2 separate regions of the Homo sapiens genome follow, and region 1 is linked to region 2. Evidence: promoter capture Hi-C in human tissues and cell types (Jung and others, 2019). All regions are on one chromosome and are shown on one strand. Each heading gives the region's core, a stretch centred on a gene start or on the middle of the fragment in contact. The rest is flanking DNA. Distances are from core to core; before and after follow the strand shown. Region 1 overlaps ZNF468 (zinc finger protein 468). Region 2 holds the start of ZNF614 (zinc finger protein 614).

Region 1 (6,716 bases), core at 2,341-4,840, 810 kb before region 2:
CATTGGAGAATCCACAGTGAAGAGATCTTACAAGTGTAATAAATGTGGCAAATTTTTCAGACATCGTTCATGCCTTGCATTTCACTGGTGAACTCATGCTGGAGAGAAACCTTATAAATGTCATGATTGAGGCAAGGTCTTCAGTCAAGCTTCATCCTATGCAAAACATAGGAGGATTCATACAGGAGAGAAACCTCACAAGTGTGATGATTGTGGCAAAGCGTTTACTTCACATTCACACCTCATTAGACATCAGAGAATCCATGCTGGACAGAAATCTTACAAATGTCATCAGTGTGGAAGGGTCTTCAGTCCAAGGTCACTCCTTGCAGACCATCAGACAATTCCTTTTGGAGACAGTTGTTTCAAATGCAGTGAGTATAGCAAACCATCAAGCATTAATTGACATTAGAGTCAAATCAGCCTTGACCTGAGTTTGTTGATTTAACATTGATTTCAAGCATTAATTGCCATTAAACTGTTTATGTTAAGAGGATTGCACTGGGGGCCATGGCTCATGCCTGTAATTCCAGCACTTTGAGAGGCAAAGACAGGTAGGTCACTGGAGCTCACGAGTTTGAGAACAGCCTAGCCAACAGATGGGAGCTACTTTTCCCAGCCTTTATTTTCTTTTTCTTGTTTTTTTTTTGAGATGGAGTCTTGCTCTGTCGCCCAGGTTGGAGTGCAGTGGCACGATCTCAGCTCACTGCAACCTCCTCCTCCCAGGTTCAAGCAATTCTCCTGCCTCAGTCTCCCAAGTAGCTGACACTACAGTTGTGTGCCACCACACCTGGGTAATTTTTTGTGTTTTTAGTAGAGACTGGGTTTCACCGTGTTAGCCAGAATGGTCTCTATCTTCTGACTTTATGATCCACCCGACTCCACCTCCCAAAGTGCTGAGATTACAGGAGTGAGCCACTGTGCCTGGCCTGTTTTTTGTTTCTTTAACAAAAAGTTATAGAGACTTCTATGAGTATTGTACCGAATCTAAATCACAATTGAGTATATAATCATTGAGCGATATTCATTTTTCCAATCAGTATGGGATTTATATCTATTTATACATGTTTTTAATCATTTTGATCAATGTTTATAGATTTCAAGGTACAAACCTCACTTTTTATGTTTATTCCTAAATATTTCTTACTTTAAGTTCTTTAGCAAATGGAATTGGTTTTTAATTTTCTTTTAAAATTATTTATTGTTAATGTATGGAAATTCAACTAATTTTTGGTGCTGTTATTCTATTCTGCAAATAAACTGAATGTGTTTGTTAGTTCCAGTTGCATTTTGGCTGACTCTTTGTGATTTTCTTTACAGAAGGTCATGTCATCTACAAACAAATAAAATTTGACTTCTTTCTTTCTGATTTGGATGAGTTTGATTTCTTTTGCTATTTCATTGTTCTGGCTAGGACAGCCAGTATTGATTGAATAGAAGGGGTGAGAGCATTCTTGCATCATGTGAGATCCTACAGGAAAAGCATTCCGTTTTCCCTGATTGGTTATTTCTGCTGTGGTCATTTCATGGATGGTCTTTGTATTGCTGAGGTAAATTTTCTTCTGTATCTATTTTGTGTGGGATTTCTATGATGACTTGATGTTGACTTTTGTGAAATGCTTTTTCTCCATGTATTGAGATGATGTGGTTTTCATCTTTCATTGTGTTCAAGTGGTATATCACATTGATTTGCTTGACTATGTTGAACCATCCTTGCATCCCAGAAATAAGTGGCACTTGCATATCTACAATCCTTTTAATATCCTCTTGAATACAGTTCGCTAGTACAAGGGGTCTTCAAGAAGTTCATGAAAAAAATACATATTATGTGAAAATTGCACATGATGTCACATTTTCTGCACCAAAATAAACTGGCACAAATCTGTTATAACATGTCTGAACAGGGTCTAGTTTGAGGCACTCAGAAGGGGAAGACATGAGTTTGAAAAAAGAAAGCAGTGTAAATTTTGCTAAAATTGAAACAAGAAGAAACATCAAATTTATGATGAGAGCAGATGCAGTGGCTCAGGCCTGTAATCCAAGCACTTTCAGAGGCCGAGACAGGTGGGTCACGTGAGCCCCGGTATTCAAGACCAGCCTGGGCAGAATGTTGAAACCCCCTTCTCTACAAAAAATACATAAATTAGCTAGGCATGGTGGCACATGCCTGCTGGTTCAGCTTCTGTGGAGACTGCAGTGGGAGGATGGCTTGAGCCTGGGAGTTAGAGGCTGTAGGGAGCCGTGATCATGCCACTGTACTCCAGCATGGGTGACAGAGACAGACAGTGTCTCAAAAAATGAATATGGTGAAATTTGGGTAGAGGAACAATGAAATCATTAATGCTTTATGAAAAGGTTATGGGGGCGATGCCCCAAAGAAATCACTGTTTTGTAAATGCATAAGTCATTTTAAGTTGGGACAAGACAATGTTGACTAAAATGTAGGAATTAGCTTGGTGTGGCGAGTGCCTGTAACACAGCTACTCGGGAGGCTGGTAGAAGAATGGCTTTCATTTTGGAAGCAGAGGTTGCAGTGAGCCGAGATCGCACAACTGCAGTCCAGCTGGGCCACAGCAAGACTCTGTCTCAAATAAAATAAAAAAAATAAAATAAATAAAATACTGCTTCTCAAAAAAGCTTTGATATAATCTTATGAGGTAACATCATTGTTTTGCAACTATAATATGTGTTCAAAATATTCTTCTATGACCCCACATTTCATTAGATATATTTTTTAACCATTTTAAAACTGTTTTTCTCTGAAATTTATTGTGTTCAGTTTACATTGAGGACGGCATGCTTTCTAGTCTGTATCATACATTGGAAACATTTTCTGGTACCTGATAAATGATTTTAGTTTGTTTCAATGTGTACTTGATAAAGATATCAAGGAACTTTTTCTTTATGCTAACATCAAAATTTAGTTGAAGTAGCCTATTATTCCATTTTCTTTCTTTATGTCACCTGATAAAATGGTGAGCTGTGAGCTGCTAAGTAAACGTTCCCCTCAAGTTCCTCTGGTCCATAATATTTTTTGCAGATGTTCAAGGATGGGCAGAATTGACTTGGAACCTTGTTCCAGCAAAGCCCGTGTGTTCAAGAAGAAAACATTTGTTCAGATCTCATTTGTAATGCTGCTTCTCTTTCAGTGTTTTAAACACCTATAGCTAGGGGTTCACAGTTGTGTGTATTTTGAATGTACTACTGTCATTTTTCTGGGAAAATAATTACATGTTTAGGATTCATGCCATCAGGACCTTAGACATTGAAAGAGACATTTCATTTGCTCAGGTGTATAAAATTGTCCTGGAATGTTTTTTTTTCTTTCTTTTTTTGAGACAGGGTGTCACTCGGTCACCCATACTTGCATGCAGTGACACGATCTTGGCTTAACGCAACCTCTGCCTCCCAGGCCCAAATATCCACCCCAGTCAGTTCTTAAATGGCTGAGACCACAGATGCACACCACCACGCCTGGCTAATTTTTTGTACTTTTGGTGAAGTATCTCCTGCTCGAAACAACAGTGACTCAACCAGTAATGTACAGGTGAGGAATGAGACCAGAAAAGCTCAGTCAGAGTGACACTGACCCCTGAAATACTTTGTCAAATAGTTTGTGGCTTTTCCTTTAGGAGAGGGTGATGCTCAGGTGTAATTTGAATTTTTAATAGATTCCTGTCCTACAAAAATGTAAAAAACAAAAATACCGGAATGGAAAAAACAAGAGATTTGACTCAAATTGTCTTGAACCTATTCTTGTCTCTGTCCACACCCACTGCTTTTCCTTATCTCATCTCACAGCTTTAACCCACCTACCCATGTCCCCTGCAGGCCTCTCCACTGAGCTCTACAATCCTGTGTGCAGTTGTCTGCTCACCTCTCTGCTGGGACATCAAACAGGCATCTCCACCTTCACATGTCCAAAAGTGACTTCCTAAACCCCCAAACACATTCCCTTGCAGTCTGCACATCTCAGATGAGGGTGACTGTGTACGTCCGGAAACTTAGCCGAACTTGACAGCATGTATTTTAAATATGGGAAATAAATTACTTTATTTGTAAGTGTTGTAATTTGTAATGTAAAGAGAAATTTGCATGTATACATGAAAGGACTGAGAAGATACATCACTTCTGAAATTCTTTCTTTGTGTGTGTGTTGGAGTTTGGCTCTTCTCGCCCAGGCTGTAGTGCAGGGCTTTATCTCTGTGGGTGGAGGATCACCCAGCTGCTGAGGCAAGAGACTGAAGGCACAAACTGTTTCAGTATAATAGAGAAAATAGTTAGAATAAGAATAGTCATAATACAAATTAGATATAGAGATGATCATGGACAATTATCAATCATTATTATAAACATTATTAATCATTAGCTTTTAATATTACTCTTTGTTGCATTACTAATATAACCTAGGAATAACCGGCAGGTATAGGGTCAGGTGCTGAAGGGACATGGTGAGAAGTGACCTAGAAGGCAAGAGGTGAGGCCTCTGTCACGCCCGCATAAGGGCCGCTTGAGGGGTCCTTGGTCAAGCGGTAACGCCAGTGTCTGGGAAGGCACCTGTTACTTAGCTGACCACGAAAGGGGGTCTCCTTTCCTTGGAGGAGTCAGGGAACACTCTGCTCCACCAGCTTCTCGTGGAAGGCTGGATAGTATCCAGGCCTGCCCGCAGTCATCCGGAGGCCTAAACCCCTCCCTGTGGTGCTGTGCTTCAATGGTCATGCTCCTTGTCCACTTTCATGCTCCTCCCGTACTCCTGGCTCCTCTTTGAAGTTCGTAGTAGATAGCGGTAGAAGGAATAGTGAAAGTCTTGAAGTCTTTGATCTTTCTTATAAGTGCATAGAAGAAAACGCTGACGTATGCTGCCTTCTCTCTCTGCTTCGGCTACCTAAGAGGGAAGGGCCCCCTGTCCTGTGATCACATGATTTGCTTCACCTTATCAATCACTTAGAAGATTCACCCTCCTTACCCTGCCCCCTTGTCTTGTATGCAATAAATATCGGCGCGCCCAGCCATTTGGGGCCACTGCTGGTCTCCACGTCTTGATGGTAGTGGTCCCCCGGGCCCAGCTGTTTTCTCTTTATCTCTTTGTCTTCTGTCTTTATTTATTACAATCTCTTGTCTCTGCACATGGGGAGAACACCCACTAAGCCCCAAAGGGCTGGACCCTATAGATCTCGATTCACTGCAACCTCCTTCTCCCAGGTTCAAGCAGGGAGGTGACTTCCAGGTCACAGATAAATGAGGCACAGATGGTTGCAATCTTTTAAGTTTTTGTTTTGTTTTGTTTTGTTTTTTTGAGATGAAGTCTCATTTTGTTGCCCAGGCTGGAGTGCAGTGGTATGATCTCAGCTCACTGCATCAGCCTCCCACAGTGCTGGGATTACAGGCATGAGCCACTGTGCTGGGCCCTTCTTTTGAGTTTCTGATTAGCCTTTTGAAGGAGGCACTCAGACATGCATCTATATCAGGGAGCAGAGGGGTGACTTTGAATAGAAGGGGAGTCTGGTTCCCTAAGCAGTTCCCAGCTTGACTTTTGCCTTTTGCTTAATGATTTGGGGGCTCACAGATTTATTTCCTTTCACACAGCCCATCATTCACCCCACCTCTCGTCCACGTTGCCTGTTCTGTGTGATTATTTTTGTGCCTTTGTCATCCACTGTCTGGATCCTGGTGAGAACAAGGCCCCAAGGGGAGGGCAGAGCCAGAATGTGGGGCTGTGCTGGGCTCACCCCCTCTGAGTGGAGCTCAACCCTGGCTTCACATTAGAGTCTAGAGGCATTTTGCAAATAGAGCTTTTGTGCTGCTTTAGCAGGGATTCTTATTCTGATGGGATGGAACCCACCCTCAGTAATACCTGCAGTGGCGCAGTTGCTTGTCATCTGTGTGCAGCATTGAGCATCGAAGCTCTGAGTCCTCCATTTCTGGGGGCTGAGCTCAGCCTGTGATCCACAGAGAAGTGAGGGGTTGTCCTCTGGATGGGGTTTGATCAGGGATGAGTGTGTGCCCTGAAGAGGAGATCAGTCCAGCCCAGCTCCCCACTGCTGCCTCGTGTGTGGTGGCTTCTCCAGGAGGGGGGCGAGATCTGAAGACTGGGGTCAAACATACACTTGTAGGTCTTCCGGTGGGACTTTCTTATCTCTGCATGATCTCTGGTGCAGTGGGCCTCAGAGGACCATCTTTCTACAGGGTGACATCTCCCCTGTCTGTGTGTTTTTGTCACAGGAAGGGAGTGAGTCATTTCTACGTGAAGTTTCATACTTTTTTCACGTACAGGATTGATTTCTAAAGACTCATGTTACATGAGGAAGCAGCTCAGAAGAGGAAAGGAAAGGAGCCAGGCATGGCTCTTCCTCAGGTGAAGTGATATTCCTCTTTGGATTAATCTGTCTCTTTCCTTTCTGAAACACCAGGTATTTAGTAGCCAGTCATTTCTGAGTCTGAAGCATTTTGCCTGACAGGTTCACTCACACTCACCCATGCCTGCCCTCAGTTCCTCTCACCTGCTCTGAGATTCCATCTCCTGTGACCCAGTGACATGAACTTGAGAAGAGGTTCCACTGGGCATGGTCCTGGGAAGGCCTCACACCTAGACATGGATGGACACAGGGTGTGGGCCCCATGGTGTCAGTGCTGCTGGGCAACCTGGATTGTTCAAGGGTCATGTCTGGATGTCAGCTCTTCGTGGACCAGATCAGAGAAACTACATATGAAATACA
Region 2 (6,527 bases), core at 191-2,690:
TACGGAACAGTCAAATATTGTTAGTATATTCTCCAGAATTTTTCAAATGCATGAGCATATTTATTTTCTGAAAGAAAACAGCCTATTTTGCATTTATCATGCCATGAACTTATTATACATCATCATACCTATTTTCTAAGATCAACATGTTTTATAATATATTCATGATTATGGTACAAAGATAGTAAAATTAAGTATAAATTGGGAATATTTTTCAAGTAAAAACATGGCATTCTCTACCTATGAACACAAACAATATTAATTCAAACTAAATGTCTTGTTTAACCAATCACAATTTTCCAAAAGATGTTTATGATTTCTTCCAATAACAAGACCATAAAATATATACTATCCTGCAGATCATTTTTTTGTCCTCTGACAAAGTTTTCTTTTTTATAAAACAATTGTAGCATATTCTTTTAAATTGATATATACTCTTACAGTTCAGCAGATGTTCCATAATTTACCAAAGTATTCATCTCTCATTGTAATTCCCTTTTTTTGTAAATTACAAAAGTTGTGGTTAATATTAAGACAGATTTGCCTAGATAGCTTTTAGAATTGCTGTGTCAAAGAAAACGAAAAAATTAAATTGGCTCTAGGTTGCCTTCCAAAAATACAATATTTACTTAAATCTTCTACAGTTACAACGCCAACATCTGCAAAAATAGAACTAATATTTTTTAAGTGTGACTTTTTAAAAAATCTGGAAACATTGCAAAGTAGGATGATCGCATTCTAATAATTTCATATTCTTAAGTGCCCCACTGTCATCTTCCTTTACTTCTGGAAGGAAACATGTAGATATTAACACAGTTGCACCTTCACCTCCTCATCCCCTTCCCCACTGGCAGTGGTTTTAATAGCAAGCCCCATGTGGGTATTAGCATTTAATGGAGCATCACTCCTGTTCTCGGCTTCGTCCATTCAGTCAGAGTCTAATCTAACCCACAAAAGCCTTACCCAGCCCAGAACCCCCGCCCTATCCCCAAATCTAACACTTTCAGTGACCACTGGTTTTGGCAACTCTGTGACCGCTTCCTGGCCAGCACCGTGACTTCTTCAAACCTTGTTTATTTTTCCAAATTGTCCTGGATATGAGCATCTTCTCTGCCGTACGGCTGCTGCCTTCCTCTAAGATGGCCGTGCCCATGGTGCTCCAGCTAAGGCTCCACTCTCAGCTATAATGGGCACAAAGGGCGCCGCCATCTTTTTTCCACAGCAGGCTGAATAGAATGCCACTGCGCCGTGTTGGCCTTGGCTGGGCACCCGACTCTTGAGTGTCCCTTGCAACGAAGAGAGAAAGGCACTGAGGTGACTAAGAGTGATTCCCACAGCCATTATGGCCGCTCCTGTCAGAAACGCTGCGATGGGCGCAGCCCTGTGACCTCATAGAGCGGCGCCCGCAGTCTGAACTCGCGATCCCGGGCAGGCTCCGTGGTCCTCGCCTCGCTTCACGGTCTTTACCGCTCAGCTTCCCGGAGTCCGCGCAGGAGCGCGTCTGAATAGGAAGCGTTTTCGGACGTGGATGCGGCGTTTTGTCGCTGCCAGTGGTGTCTGGAGAGGTTCGGGCTCGGGTGAGTCGAGTTCTGGGCATGGACTCGCGGCCTGTGGGTCTGTGTACCGATGGTGCGTGGAGCGTCCTGATTGGGGCTGTATTTGAACGCAGTCGCTGAGGAAGCGGGGCGTTAATGACGGGTCCTTTGGCTGTAGGGATGAAGAGTCTGAGGAAATCAGCGACGAGTCCGACTCTGTCTGGGTCTGGGGCCCTTGTGAGTCACCCTTTACGGGTGTTGGGCTGGGGGACGGTCAGGTCTTTCCCTTCCCATGAGGCCCTATCTCAGGCTATCACATGGGATATTATCTTTCCTGAAGAATATAACATGTGCTCTTGAAAAAAATGTTTATTTTACTGCTGTTGAGTGCAGTGTTAAATGTTCGTTAAGTCTAGTTGGTTGATAATGTTGTTCAAGTTTTCGGTATCCTTGCTGAGTTTCTATTTGTTTTCTTTATTATTGCAAGTAGGGTAATGTAGTCTTCAATTATTATTGTTGAATTGTCTAATCCTCTCTCATTCTGTTTTGCTTCATACGTTTTTAAATTATCATATTCTTATATATACACCCTTATATTATTATTGCCAGCCATTGTAACCATTGTTGCCACTCACCTAGGCCTTGGTGTCCAGAGTTTTATTGGATATCAGTTAACACACACACACACAATTGACTGCCTATGAGGCTGACTTCAATCTCCAGCTCCTCCAGATATCAAACTAATACCACGTGGTCCAAGGTCTCCCACAGTAAATCACATTATTAGGATAGACAATTTGGCATGGCTTAAATTGCCCTGATAACCAAAGACAGTTTTATCAAGCAGCGTATTCCAAAGGCTTAGAGTTTGCCTCATAGGAACTGTGGGCAAAGGACAAAGCTCTCTTGGGTAAAGTTACTCCTTTAGCGCATAATGTGAAATGAGACAGTTCTTGTGATTTGCTTAGTACATTGGTCTTGACACGAGGTATGTATACCCAAAGAGCTTACAGAGACTTTCGAACCAGTACATGGGCACACGTGGTTTTTAAAGACATTCTTGGAGCCTTCCATGTGTTCTCTTTCCTAAAATTGATCTGTCTGAGAATTCACCTTGAAGGGGGCCACCCCTCCACAACCTGTGGGTGTTTCTTGTCAGGTGGGATGAGAGACTGAGAAAAGAAATAAGAGACAAAGTATAGAGAAAGAAAAGTGGGCCCAGGAGACCAGCACTCAGCATACGGAGGACCCACGCTGGCACTGGTCTCTGAGTTCCCTCAGTATTTATTGATCACTATCTCTACCACCTCGGAGAGGGGGATGTGGCAGGACAATAAGGTAATAGTGGGGAGAGGGTCAGCAGGAAAACATGTGAACAAAGGTCTCTGTGTCATAAATAAGTTTAAGGAAACGTGCTGTGCCTTGATGTGCACGCACACAAACATTTCGGTACAATAAAGAGCAGTATTGCCACCAGCATGTCTCACCTCCAGCCCTAAGGCGGTTTTCTCCTATCTCAGTAAATAGAACAGACAATGGGGTTTTACACGGAGACATTCCATTCCCAGGGACGAGGAGGAGACAGATGCCTTTCTCTTATCTCAACCGCAAAGAGGCCTTCCTCTTTTACTGATCCTCCTCAGCAGAGACCCTTTACAGGTGTCGGGGTAGGGGACGGTCAGGTCTTTCCCTTCCCACGAGGCCATATCTCAGGCTATCATATGGGGAGAAACCTTGGACAATACCTGGTTTTCCTAGGCAGAGGTCCCCGCGGCCTTCCGCAGTGTATTGTGTCTCTGGGTAGTTGAGATTAGAGAATGGTGATGACTTTTACCAAGCATACTGCCTTCAAGCACGTTTTTAACAAAGCACATCCTGCACAGCCCTAAATCCATTAAACCTTGAGTCAACACAGCACATGTCTCTGCTAGCATAGGGTTGGAGCTAGGGTTACAGATTAACAGCATCTCAAGGCAGAAGAATTTCTCTTAGTACAGAACAAAATGGAGCCTCTTATGTCTACTTCTTTCTGCATAGACACAGTAACAGTCTGATCTCTCTTTCTTTTCCCCAGACACCTGCCTCTGAGGCATTGTGCTGTGCTGGTTCTGCTTTCCCACCTTCTCTATAATAGTCATGCCACTTCTACTTCACAAAAGAAAGGCATAGATTTCACACATTTAGAACCATGAAAACCTCTGAGGCAGCAAATAAAGGAACTGTTAGAAATATTAGGGTCTTTTATTTAAGGTAAGTGCAGAGCAGCAGTGACAATGTCTGGACCCAGGGTTAATGTACACTGAAAGCCATTTTGTTTATCAGTCCTCAGGTCCTGGCTCCCAGAAGCAAAATAACTCAAGTGAAGCAATGAAGGAAGAAGAAGGAGGTTGCTGGCCTTGGATATCATAATTTCTGGGGACAACTTTAAGTGGACACTAATATTTCTGACTAGGAAAACTTCAAAAACTTCATGGCAAATGCAGAAGAGACAAAGACGTATAGTCCATGTTATCCACTATTTTCTGAGCACAGAAGAAAATGATCAAGACCCAGGTGATATTTTCCCTTTGATTTTTTGATAGATTTATGGTGGCCTGAAGAAGTCAGTTGAACTTAAGGAAGTATATACTGGGATAATTGTGTTCTAGGGAGAAATTAACTTACATTGCTTTTGGGAGTAGAGGTGGGGGTTCATTCTGCCTTAAGAAGTAGATTCTGGATCGCTTGAGCTCAGGAGTTCAAGACCAGCCTGGGCAACATGGTGAAACCCCGTCTCTACAAAAAATACAAAAATTAGCTGGGTGTGGTGGTGCACACCTGTAATCCCAGCTACTCGGGAGGCTAAGGTGGGAGAAGAATTGCTAGAGCTCAGGAGGACGAGGCTACAGTGAGCCATGTTTGCACCACCGCACTCCAACCTGGGTGACAAAGTAAGACCCTGTCTCAAAAAGAAGGAAAAAAAAGTAGACTCAATATGAAAGAATCCATGCTTTGTTGGTAGTTCAACTTTTGACCATTACAATGATACATGAATCACCCACCACTCAAGAAGGAACTATGGTTGTCATTTTAATGTACATACTCCAGACCATTTTTGGAATATTGGCATTCTTTGCATGCTGGTGCCTGCCAACCAACTTTTTTAAAATTACTAATTTATTTATTTATTTATTTTGAGACAGAGTCTTGCTCTGTTGCCCAGGCTGGAGTGCAGTGGCGCAGTCTTGGCTCACTGCAAGCTCTGCCTCCCAGGTTCACGCCATTCTCTTGCCTCAGCCTCCCAAGTAGTTGGCAGGAGACAGATGCCTTCCTCTTATCTCAACTGCAAAAAGGCCTTCCTCTTTTTCTAATCCTCCTCAGCACAGACCCTTTACGGGTATCCCCCGGTGTCATGCTGGGGGACGGTCAGGTCTTTCCCTTCCCACGAGGCCATATCTCAGGCTATCACTTGGGAAGAAACCTTGGACAATACCTGGCTTTCCTAGGCAGAGGCCCCTGTGGCCTTCTGCAGTGTGTTGTGTCCCTGGGTACTTGAGATTAGAGAATGGTGATGACTTTTAACAAGCATACTGCCTTCAAGTGCTTTTTTAACAAAGGACATTCTGCATAGCCCTAAATCCATTAAACCTTGAGTCAACACAGCACATATTTCTGCGAGCACAGGGTTAGGGCTACGGTTACAGATTAACAGCATCTCAAGGCAGAAGAATTTCTCTTAGTACAGAACAAAATGAAGTCTCTTACGTCTACTTCTTTCTACATAGACACAGTAACAGTCTGATCTCTCTTTCTTTTCCCCACATCTGACACCAGATATGTGGGGTTTTTCCCACACATCAATTCAATTCTCCATACCTATTAGGTATTCTAAAATTTACTCAATTCTGACACTAATTGTCTAGACTTAGGACAGACTCCACAGGTTGAGGGCTCAGTCCCACAATACTGCCCCCCTGAAAAGTGCTGGGTCCCCAGGTTACTCACAAGTTCTTTTGGACTTGGCTACCAATTGGATGTCCCCACAACCCCCTTCTCAGATCTATTCATCTGCTAGAAGGCTCAAAAAATGCAGGAAGACAGTTTACTTACTAGATTACTGGCTTATTATGAAAGGGTACAACTCAGGAATGGCCAGTTGGAAAAGATGCATAGGTCAGGTAATGGGGAAGGGCCTCAGGGCTTCCATGCCCTTTCTGGGTATTCTACCCTCCCAGGACTACCCTATGTTCAGCAGCCTGGAAGCTCTCAACCTCATCCTTTTATTGTTTTGGTGGGTTCATTACATAGGCATAATTTATTAATTCATTAACTATTGGTGGTAAGCTCAATTTCCATCACCTCTCCCTTCCACAGAGGTCAGGGGTTGGTTGGAGAGGTGAGACTGAAAGTTCCAACTGTCTGTCACAAGGTTGGTTCCCCTGGCAACCAGCTCCCTTCCTGAGGCCATGGAAGAGCCCCAGGCACCAGTCATCTCAATAGCATATAAAAGACACTTCAGCAATTCCAAAGATTTGGAGGGCAGAGACCAAATGTATATTTATTTTTCACAGTCTGGTATATAGAAAGTGACACGGATAAGTATATTTGGTCATTGTTCCCAGTTCATGGCACAGTATGCTTAAAACCCTTGGAATTTCTTCCTGAGAAATAGGTGTGTCTTTTGTTATTCATAAGGAAACCCTGTGATACACCTGAATTTCTGCTCATGAGGTGACTACTCATGAGACCTCTAGATAGTGTCAGGATGAGACTGGTCCCCAGAAAGACCAAGCAATTAGAGGATTGGAACTGAAAGGAGGAATGGACTGGAGAGTAAGTTCTATAAAAACTCTTGAACAGGCTGGGCATGGGGGCTCGCGCCTGTAATCCCGAGCGGATCATGAGGTCAAGAGATCGAGACCATCCTGGCCTACATGGTGAAAGCCCGTCTCTACTAAAAATACAAAAATTAGCTGGGCGTGGTGGCACGTGCCTATAGTCCCAGCTACTCAG

What was found. Contacts are between HindIII fragments. The study calls those that stand out against the background at their distance.
Region 1: a fragment that was not itself captured here is called in contact with the fragment with the promoter of ZNF614 in region 2 in 1 of the 25 tissues and cell types used here (pancreas).

The regions. Positions count from the first base shown.
Region 1 is chr19:52,833,185-52,839,900 of GRCh38, reverse strand. It overlaps ZNF468 (zinc finger protein 468), which reads left to right. Exons shown (of 4, transcript NM_001008801.2): 4 at 1-1,891. It also overlaps a transcript of ZNF600 not described here. Among named protein-coding and RNA genes, the nearest start is that of ZNF28, 15 kb to the right of the region's middle. The HindIII fragment of the contact is 4,394 bases long and covers 1,394-5,787 here.
Region 2 is chr19:52,023,292-52,029,818 of GRCh38, reverse strand. It overlaps ZNF614 (zinc finger protein 614), which reads left to right and starts at 1,440. Exons shown (of 5, transcript NM_025040.4): 1 at 1,440-1,577; 2 at 3,858-4,088. The coding sequence starts at 4,074. LOC112268244 (a long non-coding RNA gene) reads right to left here and starts at 3,420. Exons shown (of 2, transcript XR_002958414.2): 1 at 3,281-3,420; 2 at 39-2,707. RefSeq lists enhancers at 953-1,712, 2,183-2,953. The HindIII fragment of the contact is 8,645 bases long and covers 1-6,527 here.